Regions from separate parts of the Homo sapiens genome. Here region 1 is linked to region 2. Evidence: promoter capture Hi-C in human tissues and cell types (Jung and others, 2019). All regions are on one chromosome and are shown on one strand. The core of a region is centred on a gene start or on the middle of the fragment in contact, and the rest is flanking DNA. Distances in the headings are between cores, read along the strand shown. Region 1 holds the start of ABCA10 (ATP binding cassette subfamily A member 10). Region 2 holds the start of WIPI1 (WD repeat domain, phosphoinositide interacting 1).

Evidence for each region. The method cuts DNA at HindIII sites, captures the fragments that hold promoters and counts their contacts. A contact is called where the count stands out against the background at its distance.
Region 1: a contact is called between a fragment that was not itself captured here and the fragment with the promoter of WIPI1 in region 2, in 1 of the 25 tissues and cell types used here (liver).

Annotation. Positions count from the first base shown.
Region 1 is chr17:69,223,054-69,229,528 of GRCh38, forward strand. ABCA10 (ATP binding cassette subfamily A member 10) reads right to left here and starts at 5,771. Exons shown (of 39, transcript NM_001377321.1): 1 at 5,528-5,771; 2 at 4,092-4,232; 3 at 2,272-2,476. The coding sequence starts at 2,305. The HindIII fragment of the contact is 7,757 bases long and covers 771-6,475 here.
Region 2 is chr17:68,455,813-68,462,153 of GRCh38, forward strand. It overlaps WIPI1 (WD repeat domain, phosphoinositide interacting 1), which reads right to left and starts at 1,684. Exons shown (of 13, transcript NM_017983.7): 1 at 1,530-1,684. The coding sequence starts at 1,609. It also overlaps a transcript of PRKAR1A not described here. RefSeq lists silencers at 1,424-2,103, 1,840-2,126. The HindIII fragment of the contact is 15,120 bases long and covers 1-6,341 here.

The DNA.
Region 1 (6,475 bases), core at 3,399-5,898, 770 kb after region 2:
GGAGGAGAGGGGGTAGGGGAGGAGAGGAAGTAGTGGTGAAGATGAAAGGAAAAGCTCTCATATTTTTGCTTCATACAAGTTTGTACTATTCAACTTTTTTTAAAGTAGATATTACTTTAGTGACTAAAATAATTTAAGAATTAAAAGGAAAAATATTTAAAGTAAGCAATACAAATACTCAGAATTTGGTGTTTTCTCTTTTTCTGCCAAGATTATAAACTGATATCACATGAAAATAGTACACTAGAGGTAAATTGTATACAAAAAATCAGAGTACAAAAATAAAAAATATAGTCTACCTACAGATTCTCTGAGGTCAAGAACACTCTCTAAGAATTAAGTGTATAGTAATCAGTGCATAAATGAATGAGTTTACAATCTGCAGGAGTAATCCACCCACTAAGTGTTTAATAGATCTATTACTAACAGAAGCTTTGAAAATCACTGGTCCAATTAGTGCCTCCTTTTTCACGTTTATGTATTATGTTCTAAAAATTTTATTAACTTTGTATCTCACTCAGGGTGAAATCTACATTAAGATGAAAAAGCTGTTTATTTTATGCTGTAGCCATACCTTTCAAAACTCCTCATCCTTCCCAATATAGAGTCAGGCGGTGAAACTTTTATGAGGACAGTGCTAACATCACTGATTTTCTCTAGGGGTATAAAAAATACTGTCAAGGCCAAACCATGAATATTTATGCTAAAAAGCAAGAGTTAGATAAATGTAGAATAAGACAGTGAGAGAGGAGCTGTGGTTGGAACAGGCGAGCATGGTAGCTGGAATGAGATATTTTATATAAGAAAGAGACAGAGTCCAGTGGTCCGTGAGACTAAGACAGAAAGTGGCTATTAGCTTACACTGTGCATACAGGAAGAATAGTCCCTGAGGCTTCAGTAAATGCTTCATGAGTTCAGAAAAAATGAGGTAAATGACTACACAAAGGAAGTGAATAGAGACAGATCAGGGCAGAATCAACACTGTGGTCAGGCAGAACATGTAAACAATGCAAGTAAGGGAGGCCCACCAAAGTCAAAGCTCCAGAAACTGCAATGAAGAATTACAAAACAGGGTAAAGCAGCCAGGGATAACAATACCCATTCGAAAGCTTGGATAGGTTAGGCACAGAATATTAGCAACTCACATAAAATAATTAAAATTCAGAGTTTGGAGGTGTCCCTTGGCATGGCAATCCAGACACCAAAAAACTAAATAAAAGTTTCAGAAAGACAAGAAAAAGCAGTGATTAGAGCTGAGACGTTAACAGATTGGATAAAATGTACAAAAGGATGAAATGGCCAATGTTCAGAACCCTGGCAGAATGAGGGCTAACAACAAGAGAAATTTGATAGTAGGCTAAGATTGCTGAAGAAAAGAACATTTTATCCTGATACTTTCCCTATGCAGGAGCAAAGGCCTCTATGGAGAGTCCAGAGACCACAGCTGACCACCAATAGTTACTCCTAATGGCAGTAGAGATATAAAGGATGGTAGGCAAAGGTCTCACATAGTAAGTAGGACTCTCAGGTGTTCTTATTTCTTTATGAGATGCATACATCAAATTAATGCAGCATCCTACATAACATAGAGACATCTATTTTCTGAGTCCAGATATGCAGAAAAAGTCTTATGGGAAAAAAAAAAAAAAAGCCTCACTACTCTAAGATCAAGGGCTGTGAATTTGTTGACTTTCAGTAGCCAATACCTGATTTGATTTTAAATAATTTTAAATGCCCTGAGCTGTACATTTTAACTATTTTTATACACCAAACAGTAATGCTTTTTCAACACCATTGCTAAGCTTGAGTTTGAATTTCAAACACCTTTGATTTATAATTCCTATATACTGGGAACTATATTTATTTCAATCTCAATTGAAAATAATTAAATCCTTAAAATTTTTTGAAACTCTTTAAATTATAGAATACCAACCCAAATATAAAGTTTTTTAAGTTAAGTTTTGGAAAAGTGAAATTTGTATCATCTAAAATGGGTCCAATCTTTTTTTCCTACTGCAACAATATGTTCTAGTATAAAGGGCAAACGGTATGCATATCATTAAAAACAAACAAACAAACAAAAGTAAATCATTTCATCTGTTGCCCACCTACCCTTAGCTTCACACCAACCCCTGTACTGCATATATAATGAGAATCTTTGCCTCAGTTGAGAATCACTGACACACAGGCTAGGTAAGTAAATTCAACCTGCAAAAAGAACTTGAAAATTAAGTCACATAATACTGAAACATTGGTTATTGGACAACACACCTTTCATAAAGGAAGCCAAGGCCATCTTATTCATTATCCTTTGTGTTATGTTACTGACTGGTGTATATGCCACTACCAGGCCAGAGTCATTAAACTGATCCACGCTTCCCAGGACTTTAGGAGGTTGTTCAGGAAAACGGGTAGCTCTGAAGTGTTCCGAAAAGATGCACAAATATAGCCCTAGAAACAATGTTATTGTCCATTCCTCCAGCACACAAAAGAGAAATGAGCCATGTTATAACGTGGTCCAGACCAGTGAGAAACATCCAAACACATTTTTAAGGCAGAATGTATTGCCATTGAGCATGACTTCATTTCAGTCTGTAATTTTTTTCTGCCCAAATTAATATCTACCTTTTAAAGAAAAAAACACCCTTTCAAAAATACACAACTTTTGAGATAATATCAACAATTGCAATCAATCTTAACCCAGTGATTTAGCACCCCTATTAGTGGGACTGCCATTGATTTTATGCCCTCATATTTGAAGCAACGTAAGTATATGGCATCACACAGAAGATACTCTTGCCAAAAATATTTAACCAGAATTGGATCCTGCTTTTAGATCCAGCTCACTGCTTACAAAAAATATAGATGATAAAGGGATGACTTAAATGACAGCATGGAGAGGCAATCAGATAAAAAGAGAACATGGAATATTCAACAGGATAACTAGTTTTGTCTCATTGGTTCCTGAACAAATCAACCTTAAAAGACATTTTGGGGGAAATTTGGAAAATTGAATTTGGCCATGGAACTAGATGATATGGAATTATTTTTAATTTTGTGTAGTGGGATAGTGGTAATGTAGGGAACCAAGTTCTTAATTTTTTGAGATACTAAAATATTTAGCCATTACATATATTTTAGGGAAGAAGAGGAGACAGAGAGATGAAGCAAAGATGGCAAGATGTTAACAGCTGTCAAATCTGGATGGTGGATGTATAGGTGTTCATTGTACCAATATTTTCACATTTCTGGATTGACATACTTTTTTTAAATTCTAGTGAGTAATAAATATAGATGTATCCTTCTTCAATATACGAAGCAAAATATTTGATCGAACTGCTTCGGAAGCTATTGCAGAAATTTAAAAGGATGATATAAATCCTGTTAGCTCCCACTGAAATGGTACTGACTATTTCTGAACAGACTGCAATCTCTACATGGTCAAGGCAGATCCAGTTATATCTCATAGTAACACAAAGCAATGTCTTAATATTCATGTCAGCATACAAGAAACTCAACAGAATGCAAAGGTATTGACAATCTGTGATCTTATTCCATGAAACCATTCTATGTTTACAAAAAGCACGGCTTTGAAGAGATTCCAAAAAAGTTTGCAGATTTTTACTCATAGATATTTTCCCAGCCTTACCAAATAACATGACATTAATCGAAATGTCCCCAAATAGTATCAGGGTTTGCCCACGTAAAAATCTATTTTATTTTGCCTAGCTTATCTTTCCCCTGGCTGTCCCTGCCCCCAACACAGAAGTTAGCTAAGAGTAAATCAGAATGACTCTGAGATTTGAATGCATTAATTATGTGGAAAATGGCTGGTTCTATTCTGCAAAAGATTATTTTTCAGGAGCTGTCAGATGAGCTTTTTAGTTAATTTCACATTTGACACAAATATTATCCTATTTTGCAAAATATATATCGTTTTGCAGTATTTAGAATCTCAAATCAACTAGCCAGTATGATAATTAAAAATCAGAATTTATAAACAAGAAAAGTAATAAAAATGGCATAATACTATATGGTGGATTTTCATTTATTAATTATGGATATATATATATATATATAGTGAATCATACCAATAAACTCTCTTTTTATTCTCCATTTTTTAAGAAAATTCTTGTACAGAAGAGCCTGAATTTGTTGACGCACGCTTATCTCTTTTTTAACCATTTTGTCCTGTTCATTAACAGGGTAAAGTAAATATTGCAGAGCAATAGCTAGGGGAAAAAAGAAAAAAAAAAAGTTCAGTTACAGAAAGCCTTTGAACATTTTGAAAGCATAATTTTCAGATGTGCCAACTAAATGCCTTATATGACACTGTAGCAACATATTCAATCAGGATTTTAAAAAAGAATATAAAGTATTAGTAATTATAAAATGTCTTCTCAGTTGTTATTTCTCTCCAGGCTTTTATGGCTATGAGGGAGATAAAGGAGATAGTATATAAGACCTTTCTCCTTTTGTCTCAGAAGTCACTTTTTTTCCATGAAATCTTAACATTACATCCACCTAAAGTAAATCCCTCAATAAGATCTTAGTAATTTTTAGAATCCAAAAAACACTTTCTCTTTACTTGTTAAGAAAAAGAAGTTTAACAGGAAGAAACCACTTTGCAGTTCCTTGTCAGTCAGCAATTTGACCACAAGCTGTCTTATTTTGAATTGCACATCTGGGCACATGTATTTGATATCTTGTTAACCACTGGGCAAAGCAAAGTCGAAAACATTACGGCCATTCTTAGAATCCCAAAAAGCTAATTCCTCTTTTTTAAATCTCCATTTATGAAGTAAATATGTAAGATACATACAGATTAAAACCAAAAATATTGGCTAATATGACTAGAGTAATTGATTTGTAATAATGATCCTTATTCTTTGTTTTCAATTTGAAAATCCAGAGCTGATCATTTGGTGTCACAACTATGACTACTGAAGTCCATTTGAATAAATGTTGATATTATATACAAATTACAATGTTCAGAGAGAACTTGCTATATTTCCCCTTTTTCATAAAATAAAAGGCAAAGCCAGCAAAACCCAATATAATCTCTAAATTCTAACTTAAGAAAGTAGAAACATTAAAACACCAATCTTCACTTTATGGATACAGAGGTCTACTTAAACAGCTCCATAAGCAAACCACAAAAACATTTTAAAAGAACAAAAGAACACAGAAAAAAGGAACTTGCCCTAATGCTCACACATTCTAAAGAAGTAAAACCATACAAATTCTCAAAAGGATATTCAAAGCAGTGTCAGAGAGAGAATTTATTGTCTGATAATATTTATATACACCTCTGAATCTAGCCATCTTTCATTTATCACACTAAAATGTTACATAAGTTTTTAAAATAAAATAACTCACTAGTACTATAACATAAAGCATAAAATAATTTAGAGCATCTGAATAATATAATTTTAAAAATTTCAATCAATATGTTTGGCTTTGGCTATATACTTTATATCTTTAAAACCTTATGCAAAGTGAAAATGTAAAACAAATTTTAACTTACAGTTAAGAAAATAAGAGAGAAGTATTTGAAGCACTTGGATCCACTGGTCTCTTTTTGTCCAAGAAAACAATGAAGAATCCTTCAAGGACTCCTCTACAAATGGTTGCCTCTTTTAAAACTGTTTTGATTCAGCTTGGCTTCTGAAAAGCCATGGTCTGTGTGTAGAACATGCCAACAAATTCTGTTGGTTTTTTCCCTATGTTTTTCTCCTTGTCCAGTTACTCTTCAGAGAGTGTAATGAATTGTTGGCTGAGCGCATCATTGGTATTTGTTTATTGCTCTTTTTGGCATACACACAAAAAAAGAGATCAAATTCAAAAAGAAAAACCCACATATTTACAATTGCATGGATAACTACATATTTACAATTGCATGACTTTTAATAATTAAAAATTTGACAGCCAAGCTAAAAAAGGAGCAAATTAAAGATAAAGTTGAACAGAGAGAGAGAAAATGAGGATTGCTCATCTCAGAAATCTGAATCATTCCAATGAGAAAGTTTCATCTGAAAGTTAACTGCATTTCAGTTAAATGGTTCCTTGTATTCACTAATTCCTATGTACTAGAAAGTGTTCTAAGGGTTTAAATGAATTCTCCCATTTGATACTCAAAGCAAACCTACAAAGTTGGTACTCTACTCACATCCATTAAACAAATTTGAAAGGTGGGGCTAACAGGTGAAGTTATTTGCAGATGTTTAAATAAGTGTGAAGCCAACAGATGAGTCCAGAATAGTATCTGGACTCCAAGATCCCTCACTCTTAACTACCACTATGAAAATGGTGCTAATCAAGACAATGATATCTGATACCCATTTAAAAAGTGTAGTGGTATAGACTAGATGGCATAACTTTAATGATTTTGTTACTTTTTTTTCAGCTACAACTAAATTGGATATTCTCAGAATGGCAAATAATGCCTCTTTATCAACCCTGAAAATCTTTTTAT
Region 2 (6,341 bases), core at 434-2,933:
ATGATGTTACAAAGCAGAATTTAGAACATTTACTACTTACAAGCAAACTAACCCCCTTTCTTAACTTGTGTTCAATTGGGAAGGAAAACATCACCCAGGCATTTCAACAGCCATGCCCTCTTGCAAAATGTTTCTTACAGAACATCAGGATTTTATCTATACCAGCATTTTTATAAACTGCAGGTCTCAACTCATGAGTGGATCCTAAAACGCAATTCAGTGAGTCACAAGCAGCTTAGAAAAAAAGGACACAGAAAATTGCACATGATATTTTGTGAATAGTGTATGTGTTATGGGTATTGGGTGATGTTGCAATACATATTTCGTATTGTGGATTGTGGTCAAGAAAAACTTGAAAGTCACTCAAATAACCAAGCTGTAGAGCTACTCGATTACATGATTACACATATGGGTTTTTCAAACAAAGGCATATTGTTCAGCACCGGGTGTTTTTAAACAGAAACATAAAGGGAATGGAAGCCAGGGTGGCTAATGGTACATAATGGCCTTAATTACACCACTGAAGGATCAATATTAGCGTAGCTCAGTCACCAGCAGCCAAGGCACAGAAACTGGTACAGCAGGAAGTGGGAAACTGGGAATCGGTCATCCCCGCCTGATGCTCAGGGTGCACATTCCAAAAAGATGATTCCATATGGTCCCCAGGGCTCGCTTCCATGAAAATAGGGAAAGAAACAGGCGTTTGCCTGTAAGTCACAGAATCCTGCAGATGCCTGAAACACACTTCAGCCCAGCTCCCTCTCAAAGCCCAAATGTGAACATCGAAGTAAAACATTAAAAATCCACTCAAAAACAACAGGGTGGAGCTCCTGTTTCCTGGAGAGAAAGCAGTCTGCGCCCGGGAAAAGAGTCTTGGACTCCGAGAAGGAGATCCTGCCTGGCTGGGTGGGCGATGTGAAAACAGCCAAAGAAATCCAAAGGTTTCTTCCATCCAGAGCGGGCAGGCACGATGCCCTGCGTCGGGGATGGGACAGGGGCTGGCCTGGCCGCAGGGATAGGCTGCCTCTTTGTCCGAGGCCCTGCCCAGATGCCACGTTGAGATGCTCAAGGACAAATGGGAAAGTTTTTCCTGTACTCTCATCTTCCTGGGCCCCAACTACAGAGTCCTGGGTCAACTTGCAACTTCCTCTCCTTTCTCATCTCTTTCTTTTGGCCACTGTCTCTCTTCCCCAGACACCCACTTTGGTCACTGGCTTTCCCACCGCCCTGCTCCCCCCATATTCCGTGGCCCCCGCAGCCCCACCACTCCCTTTGCGAACTCCCTGCTTTCACCCTTGGCCCAACCTTGTCGCTCTGGGAGGACACTGGGAGTGGGGTGGGGTGGGGGGTGCGGCAAACCCCACTGAAGGGGTACGGGGATAACAAGATCCCAATGCGTCCGAAGCAGACACCGGCCCTCCCGCCGAGGCCGCCTCGAGGCGGAAGCCACAAGCTGCTCTCAGGACGACACCCCTGGGTCCTGACACTCTGTCCCCCACCTCCCTGGCAGGGGCCGAGTCGCAGCTTACGTGCAGTCCTGGTTGAAAGAGAAGCAGCTGAGCGCCGACTCAACCCCGCCCGGGGGAGCGTCCGCGGCCTCGGCCTCCATCGGGGGCTCGGCCCGGGAAGCCGCAGCTCGGAGCCGGCGACAGCCACCTCAGCAGCCCGCCCGCGCCGGCTCCACGGGCCGGGTCGCCGGTCCTGCCCCGCCCCTACCCCGCCCCGTCCCCACCCCGCCCCTACCCCGCCCCGTCCCCACCCCGCCCCTACCCCGCCCCGTCCCCGCCGCGTCCCCGGCTTCGCCCCGCCCCTTCTCGCCCCTCCAGCTGGTCCCGAGGACCAGAGCACCTGATAGGGCGGGGCCCCTGCCTCCGGCCACCATTGGCCACGAGCCCAAGCCACGGCTGGCGGGCACCGCCCCCCTTGGCCAATCCGTGGCAGCTGTGGGCGGACCCGCCCGGCTGGCGACCCGCCCCTGGCTTCGTAACGCGGCTCTCCATTGGACAAAGGCGCGTGACGCAAAGGCAGCAGGCCCACGTGGCGGTGTTTTCATTGCCGGAGCCGCCCAGCTGGGAGGGAGAGGGAAGAAGGAATGCGGCTGGGGCCAGATCTGCTGGTTTCAGTCCGGCAACTGCGTCGGGGCCGCCGCAAGGGTGACAGGAGGACGCGCTAGTTCCCACCCCGCCCAGACCCCTTGCCATGTGTAACTCTGCCTATTAAACTTACAGAGTTTAGCAGAGAGCGTTAGACTCCAAAGCCCCACCCTTTTGTCGAGTCCTCAAGCCGCATTGAGAGAAGCTCCTGAAATGGGGCTGCCTCAGCCAGAGAGATAGCAAGTTATCTTATCCATTGCCGAGCGGTTGAGAACCCTCACTACTTGCCAAGCGCGCCGTACTATGTATGTCATCTTGAATTCTTATAAAACTTGTGTGGAAAATACGATTGTGCTCAATATACAGAAGAGGCAACTGAAGCTCCAAAGCTAAACAATTTGTCTAAAGTAACAGTAAATGGTAGAATGTCTGCATGTCTGCTTTCAAGACCTGTGCACTAAATAACTGCTAAACAGTAATTTGCAAAAACAACGTAGCACCTAGCATGCGAGATTCTAGGTTTTCTAACCAGGACAGAAATGACTGCAGCATTTGACGGAGCTGGAAGGTGGGGGGAAGCACCTTTGATCTGAAAAGTTACAAAAATGGCACAAAGTATCTAAACAAGACCTATCCGATCCGCAGCTGAAAAAAATGAAAGTGTGTGTAGGGCAGTGTAGTTTATGAAAGGGGTAACGTCTTGAAGATATAGCACAATTCAAAACTCACGTAATTCGAGATAAACCTTAACAAAGAATCTCTTTTTAAAAGCTGAGTACTGTACATGTTCCCATGCGGAATTACTGTCAATACGGTTTATGAAGCAGGAGCTCTGCCAGCTTTGGATTGTATAACTGCTGATGGATTTTTAATTCATTTTTTCAAATTTTGAGATGATATTTTAGTTATTGTTATATGACAGTCTCTCAAATCAGCATAATTCAAATTTATTAGGTTGGTGCAAAAGTAATTGCGGTTTTCCCCATTTCCCACTTTTAATACCCAGTTTATGACAAAGCTACTTTTATGTATGTGTATATATATATATATTTAACCTTGGACCTACAATAGATGAACAAAGGGCACTATTTCACCTAAACCTTTCTGGTTGGATTTCCGGTTTGTGTTTTCTGAGATGCAAATGTAACAGTTTCTTTTCTCAACTTTATTATTTTTTTCTCTCCACTGATGTAAAAAATAGTTCAGCTCATAGATTCACAGATGTTATTGCTCTTTGGCTGATTGTGAGGTGTTGTATAAACTATCAGAAGTGAATGGAACTGCTGTTTAGATACTTTGTGCCATTTTTGTAACCTTTCAGATCAAAGGTGCTTCCCCCCACCTTCCAGCTCTGTCAAATGCTGCAGTCATTTCTGTCCTGGTTAGAAAACCTAGAATCTGGCATGCTAGGTGCTACGTTGTTTGGAGAATTACATGAAGTGTACCATAAAGTTTTTAAAGTGTAAGCTGTTATTATCAGTTTGTTATTAAGAGTTTGGACTTTATGGGATAGACCTGGGAGCTGGTGTTAGTTTTTGAGCAGGAGTGTTTCATGATAAAAAAGCAGTGTCTTTGTCAGATAAACTTGGCCAGGGTGTGCAGAACAAATTAGAAGTGGGAAAAGATCTAGAAGTCTTTAGGGGACTAATGTGAAATTCTGGAAGTAAAGGGACAGGAGAGACTAGGCTAAAGTGATGAAAACAAGGCCAGAAAATTAGACCAAATCATAGAGTTGTTTTCAGGCATTGCTGTCCAGTAGATAAAATGAGCCCCAAATGTGAACTCCACATTGTAAATTTCAGTTTTCTAGAAGATACATTTAAAAAGGTAGAAATAGGCAAATTAATTGGAATAATATCATTTATTTAATCCAATGTGTCAAAAATATCATTTCAATATAAAGATAATCAATATAAAGTTACTAATCAGTTAATTCAGGTTTTAATTTTTTTTTTTTTTGAGACAGAGTCTTGCTCTGTCACCAGGCTCACTGCAACCTCTCCATCCCGGGTTCAAGCGATTCTCCTGCCTCAGCCTCCCAAGCAGCTGGGACTTCAGGCCCCCGCCACCATGCCCAGCTAATTTTTGTATTTTTAATACAGACGGGATTTCACCATGTTGGTCAGGCTGGTCTCACACTCCTGACCTCATGATCCACCTGCCTCAGCCTCCCAAAGTGCTGGGATTACAGGCGTGAGCCACCACGCCTGGCCTCAGATTTTAATTTTTTTTTAGAACTAAATATTGAATATCCGGTGTGTATTTTTCACTTACACCATATCTCAGTTCACATGAGCCACATTTTAAGTGTTCATGTAGCTGGTGGCTACTTTATTCTCAGTAGAGTCTTGAGGGACTAAATGACAGGCATGGCAACTGATGGGGAAGGGGGAGGGGCAGGGAAGAAGAGGGAAGAGTCAAAGCTGATTTCATGGTTGGGAAGGGGAAGCCCATTGGGTTGCTTTTAGAAACTAGATCTTCAGTCAGGTATTCAGGAAGTTGTATTTCATTTCAGACACTTTAAATCAGCAGCAGAACTGCATGCTTACTGGAATCAAGGTTTGGATCTAGAGCTATGGCCACGGGAGAAAAATGGTCACCTTCCCAGCCTCAGCCTTTCCTGTGAATGGTCCCCCTTATATGTTTCTTTCCAGGCTAATGGTCCATTATGGCACCAGCCATGTGGAAATAACATCTCAGGGCTGCCTCATCTGATTTCATTTTTCCCAAGACAATATGTAAGTCTGTATTTTTATATAAATCTGTGCCTATTTTATTAAAAACCTGTATTTGTAGGTAAATTTAAAAAATGATGAAAACTAATTCTTATTTTCAAAAAGTACCTCATAAGCTAAACTAAATACATCAGCTAGCTGGATGTGGTTTGTGGAGGGCTGGTTTGTGATTTCTGTTAGAGGTGTAAGCAGCCACTTTGAAGAGCTCCACCCTCAAAAAATTTCCCAGAAGTCCATTCATATAAAAAGCCAAGGGCAAGGTTATAAATAACTTAAGAGGTGCTGAATCCATTTAATGTCAGGCTGGTTTTTCTTTTTTAACATTCTAGTTCTGGGTTCTGTGGGAGAGGACACTCTTGATTTGAATGTTGGGCTTATGGGCAACCTAAGTCTTACAAGTTCTTGCAACAGCAATTTCACTACTAAATAACATCAGCAAAAGATAATGGGGTAGGTGGGGCAGGGGACAATGCTTTGTTCCAGTGGGAATAAGATTTTGGCCTTTCTCTTTCTTTCAACTGAAATTCCTAAATGTCTATCTTTTCCCTGAAAAACAAAACAAACAAACAAACAAAAAACTCCATTATTTCTAGGAAAACTTACTCGTAAGTAACTAGTAAGTTACTTACCAGTCAGCAAAATCTGGGAAAATAAAGCTGGGCTCTGGGAATTAAAAACATGTTTGGTAATACAAAATTGCAGGCCACAGTTCATCTAATGGAGAGACTTCTTATTTGTATAACAATCAGGTTGTAATTTTAAAATGCTGATTAGGGCATGCACAGGGCATTCACAGGGGAAGGTGGAAATGAGACATCCTGTCTGATGCAACACTCCTGTCACCCCATATGGTCATTCATGGCACCCAACCATCTACAATTAAAGTAACTACTAGGTGAACAAACACCACTCCTGTCCTATTCTTCTTTTTATAAAGTCCATTCTATTTTTATAAAATCAAGTTACAGGAAATAATCTCCTTTCTCTTTTCTGCTATGGGGCAACACTCAGAACATGAACTGAGAACGAGTTGAACTCTAATGGACCAGTGTATGGTAGCCCTTTGAGAAAGGGTAAAGGAGGAAGGGCCCTGGGACAATGGAGCCAAGAGGGAGAGGGAGGGAAGGGCGATGTGTCAGTACGTGGAGGAAGCTCAAGGAGTCAGCCCTATGGTGCCAGGGTAGAAGAGGAGGGGTTGGGCTGTGGGGTGATTTCTGGGAAAGGAGATGATCGAACTGATTGGCAAGCAGGAAGCCCCAGCCAGAAGTCTGGCCGAGCAGCAGGTGCAACTGGGTTTTCTGTTTCTAATTATAGACAGTGTGTGTGAGATAGCATGGCTGCAGTGAATGAAGAGGCCCTATCATGTGCCCTTGTCCCCCAAATGGAACCATTATTTCTGGATTTATTGATTAAAAGGGGAGAGACAGGGAGCAAAAACTAACAACACTTCTAATATTCCTTGACTTATATATTCCTTCCCAAGAGTCAGGAAAAATGTTATTTCATGAAAGAG